Regions from separate parts of the Homo sapiens genome. Here region 1 is linked to region 2. Evidence: promoter capture Hi-C in 16 types of primary human blood cells and fetal thymus (Javierre and others, 2016). All regions are on one chromosome and are shown on one strand. The core of a region is centred on a gene start or on the middle of the fragment in contact, and the rest is flanking DNA. Distances in the headings are between cores, read along the strand shown.

Region 1 (2,700 bases), core at 15-2,514, 340 kb before region 2:
TCTGCCCAGTGCCGTCCGCATCCCTGGGAGCACACAGTAATATTAAAAGTGGTGACTCCAGCCCAGTGGCAGGGCTGCACTTGCCCAGATGAGGATCGAAACTGGCGCTCAGAGAGGCGCGGGACCTGCTCAACGTCACACAGCAGAGCATGGCGGACACCCGCCACCCCACGTTTAAATGCTGTGCGCAAGGCTGGGGTCATCTGGTCCCCAAGCCCAGGGTCTGGTGGAAGGGCGCAGAACCACGGTGGTCAGTGACCACAGGGGCCGAGGTAGGAAAGGGGGAGGGATTTGGGAATCCGGTCAAGACTCAAGGCAGGAAGGGAGAAGAGCTCTGGACGCTGGGACAAGGAGGTCAAAGGCCTGGGGCTGGAGTCCGACGGAGCCAGAGGGGAAGACAAGACTGGGGGCGGCGCGCGCCACCCAGCGGTATCGGGAGGGAGGACCGGAGGGAGGGCTGGGCCGGACGCTCCTCTCGCGCACCGATCGACCTCGGGTTCCTGGAGGGGCGTCCCCGTGGGATCCCGGCTCCGTACATCCTGGAGCCCCTAGGGGAGGGACGGACCAGTGGGGGCCGGCGGGGCCTCATCAGACACCCCAACGCCAGGACCCAACGGGACCGAGGACGGTCGCCGGGCGCTTCACGGTTCGCGTGGTTTCAGGATCTCGGAGAACACAACCGGCAGGTCCTGCAGCTCCGCGCCCATCTCCCTCCCCGCGGCCACACCCCCGGCCACGGCCCGGCCCTGCCGGAAGCACAGTCCTCCTGGCCACGCCCCCCAGTCCTTCGTAGCAAAAGCTCCGGTCCAGGCCCCGCCCCCAGCCCGCCCCAACCTCGATTGCCTACTAGGCCCCGCCGCCCTTTGGCAGTAACGTCCGAGTCCGGCTCCCGCGCAGGCCCCGCCCCGCCCCGCCCCGCCGCCCTCCGTCCCTCCCATCCGGGGGACTCAACGCGTCCCACCGAGGCCCCGCCTTCAAACAGGCCCCGCCCCCTAACGGACCCCGTCCCACCGAGGACCCGCCTTCAAACAGGCCCCGCCCCCGAACAGACCCAGTCCCACCGAGGCCCCGTCTCCGGGAAGGCCCCGCCCACGAACAGACCCACCCCACTGAGGCCCCCCGACGCCGCTGCCGCTCTGCAGCCCCCCAGGCGGGACGCGTCGCGCGGGCTGCCCCTTCTCCCTCTCAGCTTTCGGAGGGACCCGGGCTGAGCGCCCCGCCCCGCCTCGCCCCGCCTCTTCCCTCGCCCGATCCCGCGCCCTCAGTGTCCCGGCCGCGCAGGACTTGACATGCTGCCCGACTGCCTGTCGGCCGAGGGCGAGCTGCGCTGCCGCCGGCTGCTGGCAGGGGCCACGGCCCGGCTCCGCGCGCGGCCCGCGTCGGCCGCGGTGCTCGTGCCGCTCTGCTCAGTGCGTGGGGTCCCGGCGCTGCTGTACACGCTGCGGTCCAGCCGCCTGACCGGGAGGCACAAGGGCGACGTCAGGTACAGCGGCCGGGAACTCCTCGCCCTTTGCCGGAGGCTACAGGAGCCCGGGGCTGGCAGGGACCTCTGGCAGGGCACTTAGCCCCTTCGAGCCTCGGTTTCCGCCTCCGTAAAATGGGTCTGGGGAGAGTCCCTCCGCCCAAGGGCTGCAGCGAGAGGTCAGCGATCCGTGTCCGTCGGCCCCGGTGCACCTGCCGGGGCGCCACGTCCTCGCCGCGTGGGCCCCTCGTACGCGTCCTTGCGCGCACGCCTGGGCCGGGACACCCCTTTGAGCTGTTTCCCGCTTAGAGGGCGGACGCCGCCCCCTGCCGGCGACTACGGAGAGGTTCGGGCCCCGCCCGGCGGGAATTAAGAACATCCTGAGGACAATGTCAGTGTTGCTGGGGCCACCATAGGCCGAATTTGGGTATCTGAGCCCCAGGATCTTCTTGCCCCTGCTGCAGACCCTCTTATCCTGCGCTGTCCCGGGCCTCTCTTCCTTATCCCCATTGCTCAGGGAGGTAAACTGGCCTCCAGAGGTCGCATGGCTTGCCTGGGGCCTCCCAGTAAACTAGGGGCAGAGGCAGGCGACACTTCGGTGGGCCAGTGGCCCCCCCCGCACTGCCGATACCCCGACCTCTCCGTGGCCCCAAGAGTCCAAGGACCAGACTCCTTGTGTCTGTTTAGTTTCCCAGGCGGCAAGTGCGACCCGGCTGACCAAGATGTGGTGCACACGGCCCTGCGGGAAACCCGGGAGGAGCTGGGCCTGGCAGTGCCCGAGGAGCACGTGTGGGGCCTGCTGCGGCCTGTGTATGATCCGGTAAGCCACTTGGCTGAGGCCACCCCACCCCATTCACTCACTCTGTGCCTGCCCTGGAGCTGGGCTACCAGGGACCAGGAGAGTGGTCATGGACCCCCACGGGCACAAAGTGTGGAAGGGTGCCCCTAACCTGCCTGGTCACATGCACCACCCCACACACCCCCTCGGGAAGGGATTGGGGAGGCTCTGGTGTCCTGAGTAGAGGTGGCCCAGGGCGATGGGGTGGGCCAGCTCCACTCAGTTTGGTGGATTAGGGTCAGGGAAGCTTCATGGGGTAGGCAGGGATTGAACCCAGGCTTGAATGCCAAGTGGGAGATTGTCCTAAGCAGAGGGAACAGGTCTAGTGCATTTGAGGGGACCTGAGTCAGTCAGCATGGCTGGAGGACACAGGCAGGTGGACCCGAACATGACTACCAAA
Region 2 (2,700 bases), core at 179-2,678:
TCCACCGAGTCAACCTGAAGTCCCTGCTCCAGGTAATCTGCATTCTTCAGGAGGCCCAAAGCTGGCAAGGCTTCTCTTCCAAAGGGTCCAGTCTCTCCCACGTGAGCCTGGCCGTCTCTCTTTCCTACGTGACCCTGGGCTGGGGTCAAGATAGACAGACCTCCTTGCTGGTGGCAGGAGGCACACTGCACAAACTGGGTGCCTTTCCAAGGCCAGGCCTGGCACAGTAACCAGGGTGGTGCCCTGCCATGGTACCCCACCTCCATAACTGTGCCCTGCTGTACCTGGCGAAGTTTGTTGAGCAGTTCCGGAATGCCCGCCAGCCTCTGCGTGGCCCTCTGGTAGTCCCGATACTGGAGCACCAGCTGCACCATCTCGGGGTCTCCAGTGCTGACTGCCTCCTGCAGGACTGCGGGCACCAGGCTGCTGAGGGGAGCCCTCCAGATGACCCCAGGCCTGGCTGCTCACTGCCCCCCGCCTGCCAGCCTCAGGGGGAGCCCCTTGTCCTCTGCAGTACCTGCCCAGCCCTGGCGGTTCTCTTTGCCCACGTTGGCATTGTGTCGAAGGAGCACTCTCACAGACTCCAGGTTTCCCAGAGACACGGCCAGCTCCAGTGGGGTCCGCCCGCGGGGGTCCTCCTGTTCAATGTCGTGCTGGGGGAGACGGGACACTCACAAAGGGCAGGAGAGAAGAGGGCAAGGCAGGGAGGCTGCCAGGGCGAGCAGGGTTGGGAATCGCTGTGGGAAATAAGGACGGCGGACTGACCAGGGAGATGGCAGAGGGTGGCCTGCGTGTCCTGGCAGGGGAGAGGAGGGGGCAGGAGGGAAGGCAGGGGCAGAGCCGGGGTCTGGCGGCGGGGCCTGGTCAGGCAGAGCTGCAGGTTGTCAGGAGTTTGGCGGAACCTGGGGACCAGGACCAGAGTTCTTGTTCTCAGCTTGGGTCAGCAAGGATGCGGAAGCGAGTTCGGGCGAGCAGGGCAAGGCCCAGCGCAGGGGAGAGGAGGCCAGAGGCTCAGGCGCGAGGGGCCGGTGACCTGGGCTTGGGATCGTGCAGGGGAGGAAGGCCCAGGATGTGGCTGCGGAGCTGAGCGGGCGGGGGGGGGGGGGGGGCTCCAGGACGGAGGCCACAGCCTTGGGTGGGGGACCCGGGGGAAGGGCCGGGTGCCCCAGCGGGGCCTCACCTGGTGGCTGTGCAGTGCGGCCTCCAGTTCGCGATGCCGGTTCGCCCAGACGAGCCGGTGCAGCGGGAAGGTGGGGCCCGGGCCGGCCATGCTGGGCCTCAGCGCCGCATCCCGGCCCCGCCTCGGCTTCGGGCCTGGCACGGCCCCCTAGCCTCCCCTCCGAGCCGCGCCCCAGCTGCGCCCCCCGCGGCCCCCGCAGCAGTAGCGGCGGCGGCGGCGGCGGCGGCAGCGCGGGCGGCAGGGAGGGCGGGGCGGGCGGCGGAGCGGGCGGGGCTGCGCCGGGCCGGGGCGGGGCTTCGCGCGCGCCCCCGTCCCCCCGCAACCATGGCAACCGCGGCCAGGCCAGCGCGCGGCAGAGCAACCGCGAGCGCCCGAGGAGATGCCCGGCCTTGGGTCTGCGCCCCGACCTCGGTCGGGCCCGGGTCCGCTGGGGCGGCCTGGAGGGCGGTGCCCGGTTACAGCTCCGCCCGCGGCCCGCAGGAGGCGCCCCGAGCCCTGCGCAGACCCCCGGAGCCGGGTCCGGAAGAGGAAGGCGGGGCCGGAGGGGGCGGGCACTGGGCCCCTCGGTAGTGCACGCGCGTGCGCGGCGGGCCGCGGTCCTGCTGCAGCCGTGATGCCTGCGTTTCCCCCGCGGATCCCCTTGCTCGCCCCGGTCTTCCTACCCCAGGTCCCGCGGTCACCGACTCTGCTGGGGTGTGCGGGTGAAGTGGGGCGCCCCGGCTCCCCTCACCCGGCCTGGAGACGAGCAACGAGCAGACGCCACTAAGTGCTTGCCGGCTGAGCGGGAAGCACCTTCCCCTGGGACCTGGCCGGTGTCTGCAGGCCCAGCGATGCGGGGAGGCGGCCCCCGGGGCCCTGAAGTCAGGGATAGGAGTTCGGGGAGAGAGGGGCGCAGGCCCAGGCAGCGGCAGAGCCGTCCCGGCGGAGGACCGCCCGCGGCGAACGGCTGCCTTCGCCCGCCGCACGAGTCCCTTTTGCAGAGGCTGCGGTTGGCTGCCAGCGTCAGGAGAGGAAGGCGAGTTTCGAAATCAGGGCCGGCCCCTCCACCCACACCGGAACTAGGGTGCAGGCCTCCGTCAGCTCAGTTCCGGCCCTTGATTACTGGAGGCCCAGCCTGGGGTCTGGGGCCCTGGTTTTGCTAGGTGGCCAAGGCTGACCCTCTATTCTCCCTTTCCCTACGTGGAACATGATTGAGGAGGGCCAGCTAGCTTGAGCATCACTTCCTGCTGTAGGGCGTCCTCAGTTCTGAGACTCTGGGCTGGAAGGCCTGATTGCCATTTTTACCCTGCCTTCTCCCTGTAGTCACATGGCGCCTGTGCCATCTGGGGTCACTTTGCCACCCCACGCTATGGTGTCAATCTGTGAGGTCCTGGGGTTGGTAGCAGCCCGAAGGCTTCTGAATGCCCAGAGCTCACCTGCTCACCACTACTGCAGCCCTCCCTGGCCACCCCTTTTCTCAGAGGCGGTCCCTTCCCTGAGCCCTCTCCAAACTCAACCCCGACAGGACTTTCTTGGTTCCA

What was found. Contacts are between HindIII fragments. The CHiCAGO score rates a contact against its expected background, and 5 or more counts as called.
Region 1: the fragment with the promoter of NUDT8 here is called in contact with the fragment with the promoter of ANKRD13D in region 2 in 8 of 17 cell types (activated CD4 T cells, total B cells, erythroblasts and 5 more); the score reaches 8.6 in activated CD4 T cells.

Annotation. Positions count from the first base shown.
Region 1 is chr11:67,628,501-67,631,200 of GRCh38, reverse strand. It overlaps NUDT8 (nudix hydrolase 8), which reads left to right and starts at 1,264. Exons shown (of 4, transcript NM_001243750.2): 1 at 1,264-1,483; 2 at 2,150-2,282. The coding sequence starts at 1,290. RefSeq lists silencers at 342-511, 632-1,421, 1,712-1,861, 2,429-2,700. The HindIII fragment of the contact is 2,776 bases long and covers 1-2,549 here.
Region 2 is chr11:67,288,031-67,290,730 of GRCh38, reverse strand. ANKRD13D (ankyrin repeat domain 13D) reads right to left here and starts at 1,428. Exons shown (of 15, transcript NM_207354.3): 1 at 1,181-1,428; 2 at 518-653; 3 at 285-409. The coding sequence starts at 1,270. RefSeq lists enhancers at 1-153, 154-1,078, 2,313-2,522 and silencers at 1,073-1,842, 2,023-2,092. The HindIII fragment of the contact is 22,420 bases long and covers 1-2,700 here.